Linked DNA regions of Homo sapiens: all the other regions are linked to region 2. The links are contacts of gene promoters, found by promoter capture Hi-C in blood cells and fetal thymus (Javierre and others, 2016). All regions are on one chromosome and are shown on one strand. The core of a region is centred on a gene start or on the middle of the fragment in contact, and the rest is flanking DNA. Distances in the headings are between cores, read along the strand shown. Region 1 overlaps LINC01727 (long intergenic non-protein coding RNA 1727). Region 2 holds the start of NAPB (NSF attachment protein beta). Region 3 overlaps LOC101926889 (a long non-coding RNA gene). Region 4 has its middle 18 kb from the start of BETALINC1. Region 5 overlaps ENTPD6 (ectonucleoside triphosphate diphosphohydrolase 6). Region 6 holds the start of GINS1 (GINS complex subunit 1). Region 7 has its middle 7.7 kb from the start of VSX1.

Evidence for each region. Contacts are between HindIII fragments. The CHiCAGO score rates a contact against its expected background, and 5 or more counts as called.
Region 1: a fragment that was not itself captured here is called in contact with the fragment with the promoter of NAPB in region 2 in 1 of 17 cell types (activated CD4 T cells); the score reaches 5.2 in activated CD4 T cells.
Region 3: a contact is called between a fragment that was not itself captured here and the fragment with the promoter of NAPB in region 2, in 2 of 17 cell types (naive B cells and total B cells). The highest score is 6.6, in naive B cells.
Region 4: a contact is called between a fragment that was not itself captured here and the fragment with the promoter of NAPB in region 2, in 2 of 17 cell types (activated CD4 T cells and non-activated CD4 T cells). The highest score is 5.7, in activated CD4 T cells.
Region 5: a contact is called between a fragment that was not itself captured here and the fragment with the promoter of NAPB in region 2, in 1 of 17 cell types (non-activated CD4 T cells). The highest score is 5.1, in non-activated CD4 T cells.
Region 6: the fragment with the promoter of GINS1 here is called in contact with the fragment with the promoter of NAPB in region 2 in 1 of 17 cell types (total B cells); the score reaches 8.2 in total B cells.
Region 7: a contact is called between a fragment that was not itself captured here and the fragment with the promoter of NAPB in region 2, in 8 of 17 cell types (total CD8 T cells, total CD4 T cells, non-activated CD4 T cells and 5 more). The highest score is 14.5, in total CD8 T cells.

What each region holds. Positions count from the first base shown.
Region 1 is chr20:21,571,269-21,574,237 of GRCh38, forward strand. The region is part of intron 1 of LINC01727 (long intergenic non-protein coding RNA 1727); the gene reads left to right. Among named protein-coding and RNA genes, the nearest start is that of LINC01727, 2.7 kb to the left of the region's middle. The HindIII fragment of the contact is 913 bases long and covers 1,120-2,032 here.
Region 2 is chr20:23,420,106-23,423,072 of GRCh38, forward strand. It overlaps NAPB (NSF attachment protein beta), which reads right to left and starts at 1,383. Exons shown (of 11, transcript NM_022080.3): 1 at 1,200-1,383. The coding sequence starts at 1,297. RefSeq lists silencers at 372-601, 1,232-1,321 and an enhancer at 1,572-1,761. The HindIII fragment of the contact is 2,788 bases long and covers 1-2,182 here.
Region 3 is chr20:25,187,162-25,190,048 of GRCh38, forward strand. LOC101926889 (a long non-coding RNA gene) reads right to left here. Exons shown (of 6, transcript NR_109994.1): 3 at 692-786. Among named protein-coding and RNA genes, the nearest start is that of ENTPD6, 7.1 kb to the right of the region's middle. The HindIII fragment of the contact is 1,787 bases long and covers 361-2,147 here.
Region 4 is chr20:21,546,120-21,549,274 of GRCh38, forward strand. No RefSeq gene overlaps it. Among named protein-coding and RNA genes, the nearest start is that of BETALINC1, 18 kb to the left of the region's middle. The HindIII fragment of the contact is 2,819 bases long and covers 1-2,700 here.
Region 5 is chr20:25,206,307-25,209,075 of GRCh38, forward strand. It overlaps ENTPD6 (ectonucleoside triphosphate diphosphohydrolase 6), which reads left to right. Exons shown (of 15, transcript NM_001247.5): 2 at 216-284; 3 at 770-1,091. The coding sequence starts at 231. Among named protein-coding and RNA genes, the nearest start is that of ENTPD6, 12 kb to the left of the region's middle. The HindIII fragment of the contact is 1,556 bases long and covers 637-2,192 here.
Region 6 is chr20:25,406,317-25,409,158 of GRCh38, forward strand. GINS1 (GINS complex subunit 1) reads left to right here and starts at 1,357. Exons shown (of 7, transcript NM_021067.5): 1 at 1,357-1,579. The coding sequence starts at 1,505. It overlaps LOC105372581 (a long non-coding RNA gene), which reads right to left and starts at 1,979. Exons shown (of 3, transcript XR_937403.3): 1 at 1,755-1,979. RefSeq lists enhancers at 1,399-1,648, 1,746-2,503. The HindIII fragment of the contact is 9,972 bases long and covers 1-1,969 here.
Region 7 is chr20:25,088,358-25,091,315 of GRCh38, forward strand. No RefSeq gene overlaps it. Among named protein-coding and RNA genes, the nearest start is that of VSX1, 7.7 kb to the left of the region's middle. The HindIII fragment of the contact is 721 bases long and covers 1,182-1,902 here.

The DNA of each region.
Region 1 (2,969 bases), core at 326-2,825, 1.8 Mb before region 2:
TGTAACGCTTCCTGTCCTATCTTGAAATGAAATTCACAGATTGTATAATCTACTTACATGCATCATTACAAAAAGTTCTTTCTGTAATATAAAGGAGAAACAAAAGAGAAGTTGAAAAAGGTAACTTTTGGTAAACACACACACACACACACACACACACACACACACACATATTCGATAGGTAAATGCTTGGGCACAAGCTCTCTAGAAGACGTAATAAAGTATCCAGGTGTTTGTCTTGTAAGAATGTGATCCCGACAACCCCAGAGCCAGGCCAAGCCTGGAGCACAGGACCAGTGACTCAGACACTACCGGCTTGGCGTCATGGTGCCGTGGTTTTCCATACTGGTGAAAAACGCTCAGTAAATTTCTAGGCACAACAACACACGTTGACTGACTCTGGGTTCCTGCATATTCCGCTCATACTAAACCAGGCGATAATGCTCTATGATTACGTGTCAGAGAGTTAGGGCCTAGGGTAGGTAATTAGCAACTGGTTGTTCACCGACATGCATTTCAGGCTGAATTTTGAGCATTTCAGAAATTCTAGCTTCCCTCTTCCTCCCCCAAATGCGAAGATGTCTCCACTATAATTGAGCAATCACAAACGGCCCCTTCCAATGTCTCAGGGCTCCCCGTTGAACACCCATGTGGAATAAGGAGTGAAGGTGAGCTCACTGAAATGCACTCGATGCCAGTTCCACCTTCCACACCGGAGCAGCGTCCCGCAGACCAGGGCTGGTGGGCGAAACTGGTGGGCAAAATGGGGTGGGCTGGATAAAGGACTCCCACCCCAAATGGCTGCAGGGGCCTATTTGAGGGAGTGGAGAGAGAAGGGTTGCGGGCTTCCAGCCAAGCTTTACCCTCACTGAAAGTTCAGGTTCAGGGCCCAGTCCCCCAGCGTGAAAAAGGGACCCTTATAAAGAGGTAAAGGGGCTTCCTTCAAATCCCCTGCACCCGCGCCCCCTCCCTCAAAGATAATCCTGGGAAATATTTAGCGATCTCCAGTGCCCTCTAGTGGCAGATACTTGTCATGCCAGGCACCAAAAGATGGTTAATAATTTTTATTGTTTAAAAACATCACACAAGCCCATGCAGGTTCATACAGTAACAATCTCAAGCTTTCCTGCATTTCCTTTTATCATCCCGATCTTACTACACCCCTAGAGAACATTTACATTCCTTTCCTATGCATTTACAAATGATATATATGTATATTATATATTCGTTTCTATATGTTACACAGAGATGTAGACATGTAGAAATATACATTACATGTGCACATATGAAGTGTATGACTTATAAATAAGCATAAAATATATTTTGTATGGCATATATGTGTATATATTTTATATTTACAAATGTAAAAATATTTTAAAACTTTATATAAATATATAAAAATATAATACATTTAATTCTATGCTTTATACAATATGTTTATATAAAGTTTATGCTTATATTGATAATATATTTTTATGTACTATATAAAGTCTGAAAATATATTGTATAAGGTTTATTTTTATTTTTATTTATTTATTTTTGAGACAGGGTCTTGCTCTGTTGCCCAGGCTGGAGTGCAATGGCACAGTTCACTGCAGCCCCGAACTCCTGGGCTCAAGGGATCCCCCCACCTGAGCCTCCGAAGTAGCTAGGACTACAGGTGCAAGTTGCCATGCCTGGCTAATTTTTTGTAGAGACAGGATCTCCCTGCGATGCTCAGGCTAGTCTTGAACTACTGGGTTCAAGCAATCCTCCTGTCTTGGCCTCCCAAAGTGCTTGAATTACAGGTGTGAGCCACACACCCGGCCTGAGGTTTTTAAACACAAAGTGATCTGACTGTTTTACCGCTGCATGCTGTTGTGCAGTGTGGAAATAATCTGATTTGTTTGATTTTTCTCCCCTACAGATGGACATTTAGATGCCTTTCATTTTTCTTCCATTGCAAGAATACTTTGTACATATATGTGAGTTTTTCTATAAGAAACACTTCCAGCTTTTCATTTAAGTCAGAGACTCAAATCTGAAATGCAAAAGCTTGTAAAACTGTGAAGTGTTAAAAATCATCCCGCCAAAGGAGTGAGGTGAAGGGAAGTTTTATAAAATTGGAATGGAAGGAAAAGGCTGGACAGGAGTGGGATGGCGTGGCTGAGAGGGAGATAGGAGGCTGGGTATGGATGAGGAGTGGGAAGTGTGGGATGGCGTGGCTGAGAGGGAGATAGGAGGCTGGATATGGATGAGGAGTGGGAAGTGTGGGATGGCGTGGCTGAGAGGGAGATAGGAGGCTGGGTATGGGTGAGGAGTGGGAATTGGGAACACCGTTTTCACCTAAAGCTGTATTCAGGGCCTGGGGTTTTTGTTTTTGTATTTATTTAGAAAATAGATAAAACTTCTATCTGGTTCAAAATTCGACAACAACAGAAAGGTGTTAGATCTCATCTTCCTTATTCTTCTGTCTTCCAGCCGCTCCGTTCTCCCCAGCAGAGCCAACTAAAGTAATCAGCGTCTTCTGTATCCTTCCACAGATAGTACATGCATAAGCAAAAAGAAAAAAAAAAGTTTCTTTCTCTTTCTCATTTTCCCTTCAAAAACCACCAATAATTGTACCTGACATACATAGCCTGCCCCTTTTCTTCATTAAATAATGGGAGATTATGTCATTAGGAAGAAACAGATTTCTTCATTCTCTCTGCCTGGCATTCCATTATGTGGATGAGGTGTTATTTATTTAAGCAGTCCGCACCTGAAGGACATCTTGGTTGGTTCCAATCTTTGCTATGACAACAGTGCCACAATGAGTAGCCTTGTACAACTGTCATTATGTGCATGTGTGGGGACACATGTAGGATACAGTCCTGGTAGTGGAATTCCTGTCTCAGAGGGTTTTTTAAAAAGAACTGCAAGTTGCCGTCTGTGGAAGCCTTGCCAGTTTGTACCCTTGTGTGTTCTGCTTCACCTCTACCAGCACCGGA
Region 2 (2,967 bases), core at 133-2,632:
GGCACACACAAAATTTCTGCCTTTCTCATCCTAAACAGCTGAATCATTCACATATTCAACAGCCCAGAATTCTTCCGGGCTGTCAGTGCGGGCTCTGCTTTTTGAGAGGTTGGAATTTAAAATCCTCCTTAGGAGAGCACGGAAGAATTACAGGAAATTAAAGGGATTCCCAAAGGACGCCTGACTTAAACAGCAGCAGCGTTACCGTTAATCAAACAGGAGGCTCTGGCTATCAATCAATCTCCGGAGAAGGAAAAATACTATGCTGAGAAAATATATTCGTTCATTAGTCAAGTATTTACTAAAGGTGTACTCGGCGCAAGGCCCCTGGAGAGAGGCCAACAAGCACACCAGCTCTGGATCCCTCGCCGGACCGCCCCCTCCCCGGCGGGGCCCACCTGCAGGCGGGACGCCCCCAGGTGCGCGTTCCAGGCGCCGGGGGCGGCCCCCGCACCCACCCCTCCGGCTCCACCCCGGCGCGCCTCACCCGGACCGGTCTCAGGAGCGATACGGGCTTCAGCGTGGCGAAATGCACCAATACGACTCGCTACGCACTGAGAAGGGGGCCCCACGCGCGCCCCGAGCTACCGCGCCCGCGGGCCTCAGGGAGCCGCTGACCTTCTAGGTCGTGGGACCCCCGCACCAACCCGGGCCAGGGCGAGGGGGGCGATCTGGGGTCTCCAGAGGGCGCGTGAGGCTGACAGCCCCCCCCCCAGAGTGTTCTAGGGGCTTCGTGGGGCGCTTGGGGAGCTCTGGGGGTCCTAGGGGTTCTCTGAAAGGCGCGTGGGGGCTGAGGGTCCCTGTGAGACTCTGGGGATTCTAAGGGGGCGTGTTAGGGGATCCGGAGAGCGTGTGGGGGCTGAGGAACCCTGGGGAGTTCTGCCGGCCCTAGGGGGTCTCTAAAGTGCGCGTGGGGGCTGAGAGCCCCTGGGAGGATGCGGGGTTTCCAGGGACCCTGGGGGGGCCTGTGGGGTCTCTGGAGGGCGCGTGCGGACTGAGGGCCCCTGGGCGTCCTGGGGGCTCCAGGGGGCGCTGGGGGACCCTACAGGATTTCTGGAGGGCGCCTGCAGGCTGAGGGCCCCTAGACGTGGTCTGAGGGCCCCAGAGGTTGCGTGGGGGACTCGGGGGGTCAGCCTGAAAGGAAGGGGGCCAAGTACGGAGACCCCCCCCCCCCAGGGCACGCACGGTCTGGCGCTCACCCAAACAGCCCTCGGAGGAAGGAGTGGGAGGCCTTGACTCGCTTCTCGGCCTCCGCCATCAGCTGTACTGCCTCACGCTCCTTCCCCGCGTTGTCCATGTCGCCCGCCGCGGCCGCCACAGCCCCCTCAGCCGGCTCGCTGTGCGCCCAGGCGCCTTAACCCTCCCTCTGGCGGCCGCAGGGACGCAGGCGCAGGCGCGACGCGCGAGGCCTTTCGGGAGCTGTAGTCCGGGTCCTGTCATGGCGGCGGGGATTCGCGAGCCGCCTACTACAGTTCCCAGGAGGCCCCGGGGCGGGGTGTGTGTGAGCCGAGCTTGCGCACCGCTAGCTCCCAGGACGTCGGCGCAGGGGGCGTGACCCCCCCAAAGGGGTCCTGGGCCAAGGTGAACTTTAATTTTGTATGTATGCAGAAATGGAAAAATGATCCGTGGCCTCTAGTAAAGATCACCTCCTCAGTAAGACTCGCATGGCAATGGGATGGATGAAGGAACAGGGGATAACAGATTGGATGGAACCCACACCCTTCATGCAAGTTCTGCAAAAGAGAATCTGGTGTAGCCACCAAAGCATCACATGCTTGATACCGCCCACCAAAAAACGAGCAACAGCTGGCAATAAGAGCCATTTTTATCTCCAAGAGCAAGACGTCCCCAATATAAGTTCAGTTATTTTTAAATCTCCCCAAACTGTAACTTTCTGTTGGTCCTCTCTTCCTTGGTTATAAATGAGTTGCATATATGCAATATATGCATAATCCACTCTTTTGTTGACTGAATTATATTCAATGGATGTGAACCATTGAACTCTTATCCTTTACATAATACTGGCCATAGTGGATGGATCTCCAGGGACAAAATGTTTGCCTGCCAGGAAGACTTCTAATCTCCTAGGAGAAGTATCCATAGATAGATGGGATCCTGTGCCAGAGACTTTCAGGCCTGTCCCAGAGGGAGTTATTTTTGAAGACAATGTCTAGACCATTCAAGCTTGGCAGTGCTAAGGCAGAGATGCTGAAACTAATAAGAAAATCACTGCCAAGTGAGATTTATGACAGTTTCAAACTGTTAATAAATACACTCTGGGCACTGGCATGCAAAATTTTAGAAAATGAAGACTGTCTGTAGAGGGCAAGGCAAGAGGGGCCAAACTCCTAGAAAGAAAGTTGACTAAAGCACATGTCACAGAGTTCATACATTTCAGGACTCCGTAGAGATAGAAAGAAATCTCAGCTCTTCGTGCAGTTTATTTACGATTACTACATGCATTATTCTAACTTTGAAAAGCTGAGCTGTGTGTTTTTGGAGAGAGAAGGAGGCGGGAAATTGGAGGTGACCGTAAATGCAGGGGAGACCAGAGAAAAACTGTAAAAAGTGAACATAAGCATTTGGAAAGCAGAGCAGTCTATGGGGGCTTAATGGAGTGAGGCTAAGTCAAAAGCTCCTAAGTAAATCAGTGTGTTGATTAAATCAGTTGTTCCCTAACGTGGTTCGATGCAGAAGCTCTAATGGATATTTAAGAAATACTGATTCCTAGGCCACTGGGTTTTGGTATCAAGGTCTCTTGCAGCTGGGGTCTAGAAAATGCACATTTTGAAAAGAACTCTCCATCCCTATCCTAAAGCACACAGTTCTAGATTCTCATATCTGTAGTCAGTTGAAAAGGAGCTGGAACAGACTGCCTCCCCGAAGCTAGCACTTGCAATTAAGAGAGACATTTTTGGTGGTTTCTAGTAATTTCCTTCATTCTCTTCTTTGTCACAGGAAATTTGT
Region 3 (2,887 bases), core at 4-2,503, 1.8 Mb after region 2:
TAGGCTGAAAGTTGACTTCGAGTAAGACAGCAGCACATAGCTCCCACTGGGCAGCCTGGCTTGGGGCTCCCTAGTAGGGATGGTTTTTGAGGGGGACCTTGTCATAGTTCTGGGGTCATGTGGAGGACACTCTGGTGTTACTGTTTCCAGTGCACCAAGGGTGAGTGTCTTCTGGTTACCTAGCTACCTTGGCCCAAGCATTCTGGAGCCTGGGAGACTGGGAGCCAGGAGATAGGTGGGAGGAGGGGCAGGCCCCAGGTAATAGGAGAGCAGGGCTAAGGAACAAAGATAGCCAGCCTGAGGCAGCTCCCTCAGCCTCTGTGCTGAGAAATCTCGTACTCCACTTCTCCGCCCTGAGAAAGCTTGCTGTCTGGAATCCTGTCGCCTGCAGATGCTCAGCCATGCAGGCCACTCCACACAGAGAAGCAGCCTGGAGCTCTCACCTTGGCTCACAGCCTCAGATAAGGGGCTTCCAGATACAACATGGTGCATTTGTCTTGAGCTCGGGCCCCCAAGTCAGCCTCTCAGCCCAGTGTGATGTGTCACCCTGTGACCCACAGCCCTGCTTTCAGCCTGTCAGAAACGGCTTCATTTTAAACTTCACCTGAACTCCTCCCTTCTCCGCAATCCTGTCTATCCCATGCTGAAGGCAGGAGGCCTCTGATGTGGCTTCCTCGCTGCAGTTACTAACCCTCACTTTGTCGTGGACAGCTGTGCCCTGGCGCCATTCACTGAAGGGGCTTTATCAGTCTTCAGAAACACCCTTCCTGAGCGTGAGGTGCTGGGCTGTAAAATATACATACATTCTTTAAAAAGGCAAATGCTTGATGATACAGTGCTATTTGGACTTCATTTTTTTGAACCTTTGCAATGCCCTTTCTCAACAAAACAAAACAAAATTTGACTTGGATTCTTAGATAATGGAATTGGCTGCAGGAAGCATTTGTTTTATCACCCCTTGAATGTTAACAATAACCCTGAGAGAGCTATCTGTACTGAGCATGAAGGAAATAATATATACAGTGGTCCATTTCCAAGACAAAGTGCCTTGAATTGGTTTAGGTCAGCAAACTACAGAAGAAACAGGATACACTAGGCCCCTGCTTGGATAGCCAATGCCTGCTTGTCGCCTCCCCACCCTCCACCCTACCCCACTGCCTTAGTTGCCCTCACCCAAACCAAAGGAGTTTAGTCTAAGATGAAAGTTTACTAGCTTGCAAAATAGCTCACTTTGTCTGTTCTTATCAGCCTGCCCAGATACTTAGGTCATAAGTCAAGTACTTGAAGAGCCCTTGAGCTAACTAGGATTGCAATGTATTATGGCTGCAACAAAATGCAGCAGAACAATCCTAAAGAAAATGCCTAAAACCCCTACCCAACAACCAATAGGCAATGTCCAGGAAGACTGTGACCCCATAGTACTCAGCCTATGAGGAACCAAGGGAGGGACCTGCACACTAGGGGATAAATTGCTTTTGAAACTGTACTGGGTGTGCCTGCCCATCAGACACCCGATCTTGCAAGATTGTCATTAAAGTCTCGCTTCCACTGTTCTCTGGGTCTCTGAGCCCAAACTTTGGGTTTGGACCAGTGAGTTTGTTTCTCACAGCATGACCTACTCTCCACCATGATGTGCAGCATTGCAGTGAGCAGAGAACAGCCTCCCTTCCCACTCACCCACCTGCCTCTTGGTTAGACATAAGTTCTCTTGTAACTTCTTTTGCTTCATTTATTTTAAATAAGAATAATAAAGTTTTAGTCTTTAATTTAAAAAAAGAAGATAGGCTAAAAATTAATATGTGTTCAGCTTAAACTAGAAAATTTTAAAAAACAACACACTCTAAGTACAAAGAAAGAAATAATAAAGATGAAATAAATTTAAAAATATTAAACAAAGATACAGAGGAGTTCCACAAAGCCAAAAGTTAGCTCTTGGGGAAGAGAAGTAATAAAACTTAGGCATTTCTGGAGATGCTGACCAAGAAAAAAAGGAAAATTTACAAATTAATTATTATGAGTGAAATGGAGGCTATCGCTGCAAATGCTAAGAAGATGTGAATAATGTTATACCAGTAACACTGAAAACTTAGGTGAAATGTGATGATTCCTTTAGAAAGATGCCAAAACTGCCTGCGAAAGAAGTAGAAAGCTTGATTAGAAATAGAATCAGCAGTTTAAAATATTTCACACAGAAAACAGAAATATTCCATCAAATATTCAAGAAATAGAAACTTCAAAACTTAAACCCATTTAGAAGATTTAAAGGCAGAAAATCTCCAACTCATTCTGTAAGGCTAATTTAATCTTGATAGTTTCTAAACAAGTACTATATTAGAAAGAACATTAGAAGCCAATCTTTTTGTGAATGTAGGAGCAAAGAACCTAAACACAATGTTAGCAAGTCAAATCCAGCAATGTATTTTAAAAGTATGCTTATTTGGGAATGCGGGAATGATTCAACGTTAGAACTTATCATATTAACAAATTAGTGGGCCGGCGCGGTGGCTCACGCCTGTAATCCCAGCACTTTGGAAGGTTGAGGCAGGTGGATTGCCTGAGGTCAGGAGTTCGAGACCAGTCTGGCCAACATGGTGAAACCCCGTCTCTACTAAAAATACAAAAGAATTAGCTGGGCATGCCAGCGTGTGCCTGTAATCCCAGCTACTTGGGAGGCTGAGGCAGGGGAATTGCTTGAACCAGGGAGGTGGAGGTTGCAGTGAGCCAAGATCATGCCACTGCACTCCAGCCTGGGTGACAGAGCGAAACTCCATCTCAAACAAAAAAGAAAATTAGTGGAGAAAAATAATAATATCATGTATAGATGAAGGAAATGCACAAAATAAAACTGAACATTCATTAATGATTTTTTAAAACTCTTAAACTAGAA
Region 4 (3,155 bases), core at 41-2,540, 1.9 Mb before region 2:
GGTGGCTTATATCTCAATGAAAGTAAAAATAAATTATGTACAGAAGAAAGGATATTAATAATAAAACATTAACATCAGTTAATAGTTCTTGGTAGAATTAAAGGTTTTTTTTTCCTATTTGTCCTTTTTTTTTAAATTGTTGTTTACTCAGCAAAACAAACAAACAACTTAAGAATGGAATATGGGCCCTGAGATAACTTAGTGCCTACACAGAGTATCAGTCAACTGTTGCTGCATAAGAATCCACCCCCAAAACATAGTGACTTAAAACAGCAGAGGTTTATTACTTCTTGTGGTGGTGTGGATTGGCTGGGTGTTTCCTTTGTTGGCTTCTCCAGGGCTTTCCTCTGCGGTTGTATTTAGCTTGAAGCGGGTGGGACTGGAAGGTTTACATGGCCTCACTCAGTGCTGGCACTTGGAACTGTCAGTTGGGGTAGGCTCTCCACGTGGCCCTTGCCCTCCAGGAGATTTCACCCACTTCCTTACAGAGTAGCTTTCAACATCATCAAAGGGTGTTCCAAGGGGCAAAGGTGAAGGTTGTAAGTTCCCTTGCAGCCTAAGCTCTGGACCATGTCACGTTCTGTGGCTCAAAGCCAGCTGACTTGAGGGATGGGGAAATAGAATTAACTTTTTGATGGGGGGAGCTGCAGGACATTACAGCTATGTTTTTAAAAACCTTCCATTTATTGTAAAGCATGCATTTAACCTCACAGAACAGGGCAGAGAATAGTCTAGGGATTGTCTCAAATACCATCTTGAAATGTTGGATTAATTTTTTGGTGGTCTGTGGATAATTTCTTTAGAATGTTCATAGCTGCTATTCATGGTATTCTTACCTCTATATACATCCTATTTTTGGCCTGTGATGGCTACAATATAATCCTGAACATTCAAACACCTAGGCTTTTCCCTTTTGAATGATTACGCTCAAGTAGAAATAATAGATGGAAACCAATAGTTTTTATCCAAGTGAAGGCACTCTAAATGATATTTTCAGGAGGGATTGATGATTGGGAGATAAAAGAAATAAAAACATGATCAAGGAAGCAAACCCAAATGTTTACCAACAGATGAATGGATAAAGAAGTGTGGTATATAGACACGTACAATGAAATATGATTCAGCCTAAAGAAGAAACGAAATTCTGTCGCATGCTGCAACATAGATGAACCTTGAGGACATTATGCTAAGTGAAATACATCAGTTACTAAAAGACAAATACTGTATGACTCTGCTTATACGAGCTACCTAGAATGACGAATTCATAAAAACAGAAGGTAGAATGATGGTTGCCAGGGGCTGGGGAGGGAGAATGGGGAGCTGTTGTTCAGGGGGCACAAAGTTTCAGCTTTGCAAGATGAAAGACCTCTGGAGATCTGCACAATAATGTAGATATACTTAACCCTACAAACCGTACACTTAAAAATGGTTAAAATGGTAAATTTTTATGTTTTTTTTAAGCACAGTTAAAAATTTAAAAATGAAAAAAAACTTGATCAAGGGCAAAAAAAAAAAAAAAAAAAAAAAAGTAGTGCATTCATTCAGAGGTCTTATCCCAGAGTACGGTTCCCAGCCATGGTCTACTTCTGTGCCTTTAGTTCTGGAAGCCTTGCTTCCCAGTGAGAACAGAATCAGGAGACCCTTTGAAAGAAGAAAGTAAGACCGGGAGCAGTGGCTCACGCCTGTAATCTAAGCACTTTGGGAGGCCGAGGTGGGTGGATCATAAGGTCAAGAGATCCAGACCATCCTGGCCAACATGGAGAAACCCTGTCTCTACTAAAAATACAAAAATTAGCTGGGTGTGGTGGCACACACCTACAGTCCCAGCTACTATGGAGGCTGAGGCAGGAGAATCGCTTGAACCCGGGAGGTGGAGGGTGCAGTGAGCCGAGATCACGCCACTGCACTCCAGCCTGGCGACAGAGTGAGACTCCGTCTCAAAAAAAAAAAAAAAAAAAAAAAAAGGAGGAAAGTAAAGGAAAGTAAATAATATCTGGAGAAGATAGGGTTCCTGTCTTAGAAAAGCCCAAATGCAGCCTGTTGGTTGGAGCAGTTGAGTTAGTAAGCCACTCCACAGTGACCAGAAGACCTGCTTTATGCCATTTGTTTTAACTACGTTGCCGCGTAGGCACCCACTCAGCTGAGGGCCTTAAATGCCACCTGCAATAAAATAAAAACCTTACAGTTGCCAACCATTTCATCTGGTTTTGCCCTGAGAATCTGCAAATCCTCTTCCATTGGTCAGAAGTTTCACAGCTGAAGAGATAGGTAATATTCTTGATGAAGTCAGTTCAAGATCAAGACAATGGAAATTTCTTGCAACGACTTTCATCTTCTGTGTCTATTGGTCGCATAACTTAAGCGTGTTGGTATCTCTGTTAGTGGTGAAGTCGGCTGCAAACCACAAAACACCTGACTGCTACGGAAGATATTAACAGGGACTTTTTTCCTTCTGCATAACAGGAAGTCTTGAGTAGGTAGTCGAGGTTGGGTAGAGGACACTTCTGTTTCAATTCTACATCCCTAGGGCTTTGGAATATGAATGATTCATGTTGCCTTGTGGTGGCTAAATGGCTACCGTCCCCTGTCCCTGGAGGCCTCACAATTCTTTTCCAGGTAGGGAGAAGGGGGAGAAGGGTGGAGCACACTAAATGGCAAACAAATGTACCAGCTGAGTCTGTGTGTTCATCTGGAATGCAAAGCTTTTCTGGAAGCCTCTCCCAGCAGACATCTCGCTGGCCCAAACCAGAACCCTACCCTATGACCACTGCTAGCTGCAAAGTGGCTGGGGGACAAGAGGGTATTTTTGGAGTGGGCTTGCTCAGGCAGGTAACAAGGCTACTGAAGTTAGTCATTAAAACCTTCTTTTTTTTTTTTTTAGACAGATTCTCACTTTGTCACCCAGGCTGGAGTGCAGTGGTGTGATCTCTGCTCACTGCAACCTCTACCTGCTGGGTTCAAGCAATTGTCCTGCCTCAGCCTCCCGAGTAGCTGGGATTACAGGCGCCTGCCACCATGCCCGGCTAGTTTTTTTATTTTTAGTAGAGACGGGGTTTCACCATGTCTGCCAGGCTGGTCTTGAACTCCTGACCTCAAGTGATCTACCCTCCTTGGCCTCCCAAAGTGCTGGGATTACAAGTGTGAGCTACCACGCC
Region 5 (2,769 bases), core at 165-2,664, 1.8 Mb after region 2:
TTGGGGGCCCTAGAGTCGGCCCACACTTCTTGTCCTTTGAAGCCTCAGGTTCCCACATGCTGCCTCGCACTGGAGCAGCCAATGAAACTTGAACAAATGCTTTCATTTTGGGTATATCGAACCAAAAACAATGGCACCCAGTGAATTTATTTTGCTACTCTAGTAGAATTTTTGTAGGCTTTGGAAGTACACAGACATTATTTTCTCCTTGGCAGGAATGGGCTATGTGAATGAAAAAAGGTATCCGTTATGAAACTTCCAGAAAAACGAGCTACATTTTTCAGGTTTGTCTGGGGCTCTCAGTAGTTGCCCAAGGGACGGAGTTTAAACCTTTCGAAAAGTAAATTGCCTGAATAGAAGTATAACTGAGGATTGAAAGACTGAATCAGATACGCGCTTCTGTTCCCATGAACAGTTTGGGAACACCATTTACATGTGGCTTCTTTTACATAAATCGCCATGTGTCCCAAGCTGGTGGGACCCTCCCTTAGAGGAGCCAGCCACTGTGGTCTGTGCACCAGGTCAGCAGCTGCAATGTGTGCGACCTTGAGCAGGCTGTCCTGCCTTTATAAACCTCAGTTCCTCTTCTGTAGGATGGGGATCACACCTTCTGGAATAATTATGAGGCTCAAATGAAGCTTCTGATTCCTGGGGGGAACACGGAGCAGTTTCAGGTTGAACATTTTGTCCCTGGGCCTGGGGACGTCTGACTCTCCTTGGATCCTAGCACCCTAACGTGCTTTTCCTGCCTCTCCCCCCTTCCCACCAGCAGCCGCAGCACGGTCCTTGGCAAACAAGGATGAGAAAAATATCCAACCACGGGAGCCTGCGGGTGGCGAAGGTGGCATACCCCCTGGGGCTGTGTGTGGGCGTGTTCATCTATGTTGCCTACATCAAGTGGCACCGGGCCACCGCCACCCAGGCCTTCTTCAGCATCACCAGGGCAGCCCCGGGGGCCCGGTGGGGTCAGCAGGCCCACAGCCCCCTGGGGACAGCTGCAGACGGGCACGAGGTCTTCTACGGGATCATGTTTGATGCAGGAAGCACTGGCACCCGAGTACACGTCTTCCAGTTCACCCGGCCCCCCAGAGGTACCCGCCTCTCATGGCAGGGCTCTCGGGATCTCCTCCCCTGTGCTACAGTGTTGGCCGGGTCCCCTGCCACAGACTCACCTGGGAGCTTGTCTAAATGCAGTTTCCCAGAGATGCTGACGCTGGTATGGGCTGGGGTCCAAGCATCTGAATTTCCCGGGAGTCCCAGATCACTCTTACACTAGTGAGTGGTGACCATGCTGAAGGGCAGCTGAGACCTTGAGGTGTTTGGTGGCCTGTCCCCTCCCCACATTCACCAGCAGGTCAGGTGGCTAGGACCATGATTTAGGCCAGTGGTTGTGTTTGGGGCTTTGTGGGGAGTTCAGGCAGGAAGTATCCCCAGATTCAGTCCCATGGGAGCCAGAAAATCAGGAAAGTCAGATAAATAATAAAGGCTCCTGGGCTTGACCGGGAGCTGCCAGGTGGGCCAAGATGGCCAGGGGCAACAGCCGAGAGGGGTCTCAGCTGGATAAGGGAGCTGGAGCCTGGGCTTCGTTGGCTATGCTTCTAGGGTGGGCCTCAGGCCGGGGTGGGCGGCTTCTCTTGAGGGGTCCCCCTCGCCACCCGGTTCCTCTGCTCTCCAACCACCCTCTTCCCTTGGTTCCCTGATGCCCCTCTCGTGCCCGTGACCCTGAGGTTCGCCCTCCATGTCTCTCTAGCTGTAGCCAGTGAGAGTTTGCAGCCCCTGTCAGGCAGGTCCCCTGGGTGTCCCATGCTCTTCTTGGCTGACCTGGAACCTGTGGGGTAGACACCATCCTGGCATTGCACGGTTCTGCTGGTGCTGGACATTTCTAGCTGCTGTCTCCAAAGCTGAGTGGTGTATTTTATTTACTTTTGACTCCATCTGCGTTATTTTTTAACTTATTACAGTAGTGAAATATTTAGATGCCATATCTGCTTATCTCTAAAAGTGGCTTCGAAGCCTGTAATCCCAGCTATGTGGGAGGCTAAGGCAGGAGAATCGCTTGAACCTGGTAGGCGGAGTTTGCAGTGAGCCAAGATCACACCATTGCACTGCAGCCTGGGCAACAAGAGTGAAACTTGATCTCAAAAAATTTTTTTTTAAGTGGAACTTTTTAAAAATTAATAATTAAAAAGTAAAGCTTCTTCAAAGCTAAGTGTGCAACAGACATCAGCCTGCGATGCTTTTGGAGCCATGTCCCAGGGTTTTCTCTTTGGAGAGAAAAGACTTTGCAAAAAGTTTTGTCCCTGATTTTTTCTGGTCCAGTCTTCGCGTCTGAATTTAGTATGCCTCCTTATTGTAAGCACAAGTTCATACCACTCCTAATAATTTAAAACACTCCATTTTTTAAAATGAAGAAAATACCCTAATCTTGAGAACCCTTTAATAAATTCATTTCAGAATCAAGGAAATGGTGTTCCTATTTTCAGTTTGGAGTCACTTATCCTATTCCGCTGTTTATTGAATTGGCAAGAATTAACTATGTTAAAATTTAACACTGATGCAGTTGTTTTGTGTGTAAATTATCTTCAGTAAAGTTGGATTTTTATTTTTTATTTTATTTTTATTTTTTTTGAGACGGAGTCTCGCTCTGCTGCCCAGGCTGGAGTACAGTGGTGCGATCTTGGCTCACTGCAACCTCCGCCTCCTGGGTTCAAGCGATTCTCCTGCCTCAGCCTCCTGAGTAGCTGGGACTACAGATGCCCATCACCACAC
Region 6 (2,842 bases), core at 107-2,606, 2.0 Mb after region 2:
ATAGCCAGGTGTGGTGGCCTGAGCCTGTAGTCCCAGCTACTCAGAGGGCTGAGGGGGGAAAATTACCTCAGCCCGGGAAGTGGAGGCTGCAGTGAGCTGAGATGGCGCCACTGCACTCCACCTGGGTAACGGGAGTTAAGACCCTGTCTCCAAAAAAAAAAGGCAATGTCATTATTCAACATAAGCCTGAGTAGGCCATTCCCATGCCCATTCCTTAGATGACATATCTACTGTATATTTGCAAAAGATCAACATAGTTTCTAGGGTTAGCTAGAATTAATCCAAGATTGCGCCGGTTGCGGTGGCTCATGCCTGTAATCCCAGCACTTTGGGAGGCCGAGGTGGGCGGATCACGAGGTCAGGAAATTGAGACCGTCCTGGCTAACACGGTGAAACCCCGTCTATACTTAAAAAATTCAAAAAATTAGCTGGGCGTGGTGGCGGGCGCCTGTAGTCCCAGCTACTCGGGAGGCTGAGGCAGGAGAATGGCGTGAACCCGGGAGGCGGAGCTTACAGTGAGCCGAGTTCGCGCCACTGCACTCCAGCCTGGGCGACAGAGCGAGACTCCATCTCAAAAAAAAAAAAATCCAAGATTGCTTGTTAGAAATTAACATTGCTTTTTGAAAAATTGCCTAATAAAACAATTCTTTAGCAGTGATTCCCATCTTCCATATGCTTAAGAAATATTCCATAACCATCTAGCCAAGAAAATTCCTAGTGAATTCGTATTAATCTAGGGCAGATATTACAAATATTTTTAAAAGACTATTTTAAAATCAAAGGGTGGTACTGTGGTGTTGGAAATGGAAAGCCTAAATAACAGTCTAATCACTCTGGAGCTGTGTGACCTTGGGCAAGTTACCTAACTTCTGTTTCCTTATTAATCCCGGGTCTTAAAACACTTCAGAGATAATTGTGGGAATGAAATACACACTGCAGTCCCTACCAGCACTAGGTACCCAATAAAAGAGAGTTTCATTTTAATATCAAACAGAAAACCCGCACTGCAAAACTGAAACCCTTGCGTCCTACCAATGCACACCAAGTTTTTGGGCCTTTCCTCTTAACCTCAAAGTGCTCTTTTCTTGAACCTAAACGAGAATGAATGAATCAAAAGGAAAATGACAAGGAAGCTGCGGGGCGTGCATTTATTTCCAGCTCTGCTGCCCGTAGAGTCCCCCGGCCCACTGCCTGAGAACTGGAAAAGCCGTCTCTGCTCAGCCGAGGGGTTCTGCCATCTCCGGGGCGGGGACCTCACCTTGGAAAGACCCCTCCCACTCCGCCCCTCTTGGAATGCGGCTGAGCGGTGGATGTCCCTTTTCGGGCGCCGTAGGCGCGTTCCTATTGGCTAGCTTTGTTCGGCGCCAAAGCGCGGAGCGGAGGCCGAGGCGAGAGCCTGGCGCTGTAGGACTAGAACGAAAGGAGTGAGGCGCCGAGAGCCCAGATACCATTTTGGCGTGAGAGCTGGTGGTTGGCAAGGCCGCGGGAGTGGGAAGCGTCCGCCATGTTCTGCGAAAAAGCCATGGAACTGATCCGCGAGCTGCATCGCGCGCCCGAAGGGCAACTGCCTGCCTTCAACGTGAGGGGCGGGTAGACTTGGACGGGGCATGCCGGCGTTGGGCCCTGGGCTCTGGGGCGGGGCGGCTCCCCGTCAGGGTTCACTTTCGCACCTTGTTCCCTCCGAGCTCCGGAAAACTTGGGAAGCAGCAAAACAAAATTCAGGAGGAAAGAGAAAGCATTCATGCTTACGCTACCCAGCGATTTGGTGAATTTCCTCATCTGAGCAAATTTTGCATTTTAGCAGTTTTCCTTGGACAGATTTGTTCCGGTCCCTTAAAATATTTACAGGTTGCCTGATAATTTAGCATTTCTTGCTCACTCAGGCATCTAATCGTGGTCAGTAAAAGCTAGGCCTCTGGAACCTGGCTGAGATTCTGGTTCTGTAGTGTGACTTTGGGGCAGTTACTCAAGCTTTCTGTGCTCTCAGTTTTCTCATACGCAAAAATGGGGATGGTGACAATAATAGTACCCAACGCATGATGTAGTGGACGCAAAATGAGTGGCATGTGTAAGGGTCTCTGCATATGCCTCACATACAGTAAGGGCTGAGTCAGTGTTAGCTATTAATATTACTTTTCTCCTGCTGCTGCTGTTACTATTAATATTATGATTATTTGTATTTTTCTATCACTGCTACCCCAGGGAGAGTGCTAAGCACTTCATGTACATTATCTTTTGTCTTTCTAATAACCCTTTGAGGGCCCGGTACCATGGCTCCTGCCTGTAATCCCAGCACTTTGGGAGGCTGAGGCGGGAGGATCGCTTGATCCTGCCACTGCATTCCAGCCTGAGTGACAGGGAGACCCTGTCCCAAACAAAACAAAAATAACTTTTTGATGTTTAAACTATTGTTTTCTACTTTTTTCAGCTATATATGCATAGGATTGGGGAGATTTAAGTATATTGCCTAAGGTGACACAGCAAGAAAGCTAGGATTTGAACCCTGGCACTCTGGCTCCAGAGCCTGCACTCTAAATTGTATATTTCACTTACGTCATAGAGCAGGCATTATGTGGATGTCAGGACACATTCTGCTGGAAGATGGGCACAAAAACAGATAATAGAATTCACCACGCTAAGTGATACTAAGGAGGTATAGCAAGGAGCACGAAGGAGAAACACCAGTATGAGCTGGGGTAGAAGAGGTGATATATGAGCCTTTCCATCCTCAAGGATGAGGTTACTGATCTGAGAAGGAAGCGAGGCATCCCAGCCAAAGGATGCTGCAGCACAAAGTCACGTGGTCACACTGGAGAGGGTGACCAATAGGGCCTGTGGGGAG
Region 7 (2,958 bases), core at 292-2,791, 1.7 Mb after region 2:
GGGGAGAGCTCAGCAGGCCATTATCACTTAGAGCCCTCCTGTGGTTGCTGTCTGGGGTGGCAGTCATCTGAGGGCTCAACGGGGCTGTGCTGGGTGCTCAAGGCAGCCCGCTCACATGGCCCAGGCTGATTGGCCTTGTGGGCTCTCGGGGAGTTGGGAGCATCCCACAAGAACCAGGCAGATGCTGCACAGCCTTTGCTGGCCCTTCCACAGAAGTCAGAGCATTACTTCCATCACGTTCAGTCAGCGAGGCCATAGCATGAGTTTTGGGGGAGTGGCACTTCTGCTTTCATGGGCCCCTTCTTCCATAAAAATATTTAAAGTTGTATTTTGTGCCTATGTTGGCATAAAGGTGAATATAATCCAGTCTAGATTCATTATTGTATATTCTTTATTATTGTACTCATTTTTCCTTCTGATTTTAAAATATATTCAATGGCATTAGAAGCATAGGCCCTGGGCATTGTACCCAAGGCATTAGTGTGCACTGGCCCTGCTGACTGGTTTAAGCAGCCACAAGCCACCAGATTCAAGGACAGGACACAGATTCAAGGTGGGACACAGGACCCACCACATCGCACTTGCAGGGCCAGGCGCCAAGCAGTGCTCAGCCACCCATCAACGCCCAGCCCAAATGGTTCCTCACCGCAGAGCCTCCCCAGGTTTTCCTGCCCCAGCTGGAACAAAATCACTGCTGCACTCTTGAAGCACTTGATGCTCCTTTGGTCTTATTTTCTTATTCTTAAGTTCTTTTGTGTCTGTTCTCATCTCCTACCTGGCTCCAGGAGCCCAGAACTGAGTCTTTTCATTAACACATCCCCTGGACAAATGTTCTTTACCTTCCAGGACAGTGACTTCCCTGGTGGCCTCTGGAAGAGGCCTCCTTACTATGTGCCAGTGGTTCTCAAAGTGTGGTTCCCAAAAGTGGTTCTGGCCACCTGGGCATTGGCCAGAAAAACAAACTCTTGGACCCCATCCAGACCTCCAACATCAGAGACCTTGGGGAGACCCATGATCTGTGTGTTCACAAGCCCCCCAGAGGACCCTGAGCCCCACTCAAGTTTGAGAACCACATCTTCTATTAATGCTTCATGAACCATATATCCTGACTGGTTTTACAAATATGTTGTGGGTGCAGAAACACCCAGTTATTCTCAAATGCTCTGAGGAGCTATGAGGAAAGCTTGAGTTCAGCACTAAGATAATAGTCAGCACCAGACATGAGCTTAGGGAATCAGGAAATTGAGGTTCTAAAAGGAGAAGGAAAAAAGAAAAGAGAAAATTTTATTTTAAAATGTTACATATCAAAAAATACATTAGTGGGAAAACTCACAGCCACCATCGGTGGGGCCCTTGGTCTGCGCCAGGCACTGCAGAGCTTCTCACGAACCCATTCACTTACCACTTGTGACAGCTCTGATGAGGGAGGTCCTGTATCGTCCCCATTCTGTGGGTGAGAAAACGGAGGCCCAGAGCTGGGACCAGCCCAACAGCCAGGGGAGCGGTCAGGACCCAAATCCTGACGGTCAGGCTAGAAGCAGCGAAATCTCCACGGGGCCTGGTCTGTGGCTTAACCTTGGTTTTGTTCTTCATGTTGCAGCGCTTGGGATCTGGCGAGGTCTGACTCTTACACTGTTCCAACTGCTGTAGACGGATGGCATTATGGGCTTGAGGCAGATTTCCCAGAGGCTCACATGCCCCATGGCCGGTCTTTTCCCTTTAGGTCCTGAGACAATAGGAAAATCCTGGGTAGGAATCCAGGTAACACTTTGATTCCAAAGAACATACTTCTCTTCCTCCTTTTCCAGCCTCTTCACTGTCTCTCTCCTCTCCTCTCTTCTCTTCCTTAGCTTCTTCTGGTTAAGTTCCATCTGTAAGACAAAGGAACCCAGAGCCAAGTTAAGCTTAGGAGAGGACACACCATCCAGTCCCTGAGCTAAGCCCACCCTCGGACCCCACTGCAGAAAAGGTCATGAGCAGAGGGCACAGAAGGATCTGCCTCTCCTCCTCTCCCCCATGGCAGACAAAAGCAGGTGCACTGTGTGGACATCAAGAAGGTGAGAGGGAGGTGACATAGGCCACCCTAACCAGAAGGTCACACCTGGGCATGTGAGGGGCCGCTGAAGGACAGCCCAAGAGCTGCTGCTGAGCTTCATTTCTGGTATTAAACAAGCACTAGGTCATCTCTTGGCAATTGAGAAACCTGGCCAATGATAATGTGCTTTTAACCAGCTCATATTAGAAGTGAATGTGATCACTATCCCAGCTCACAGGTAGCACCGAGGCTCTAGGCAAAGGTCAGAACAACTCTGCCAGGGTGGCGTGACTGCGGGTTCCTGCCTCTGCTTGCTGGGGACCTACTTACTCCAAGGAGGCAGGCACCGGCCATGACCCTATTTGAAGGAGGTCTTTGCTCCTCCCTCTGTGCTCAACTCCCAGTCAGCTCCCTCCAAGGCATCCGCCACAATTGCAACCGTTCACTCACCTGCTGGTTTACTGCTTTACCCATCTGCCTTGCCGGATGCTGTAGCTGACAGTGCTGGCAGGCTGCCCTCCGGGTCGCCTGCAGCCTCTGTAGACAGTTCACACACACACCACAGCTTCCTGCCTGCAGCACCTGCCACTCGAGCGGAGGATGCCCCAAAGCCAGGAGTGCACCAGCTAGGACTGAAGTCCTGGGGGGCAGAGGGTGATGCCTCCAGCAGCCACTCTTGACAGATGACAGGGGTTGATGGATGATACCTGGCCAAGGGGTGCAATGATCCTGTGGTAGGAAAATCCCGAAGAGAAATCACCTTGCATAGTCACCCGAGGTCCTGGTGTGATTGAGCCTTGGGAAATGCCACTTGCTGTCACAGCTTCTCTGTGTCCCTGCCCCTCCCCTACTAGAACTTCCTGGGTTCCTCCCACATTACTTACTTCACTCAAATCCCTGTCTCAGAGTCTGCTGTGCAGAAC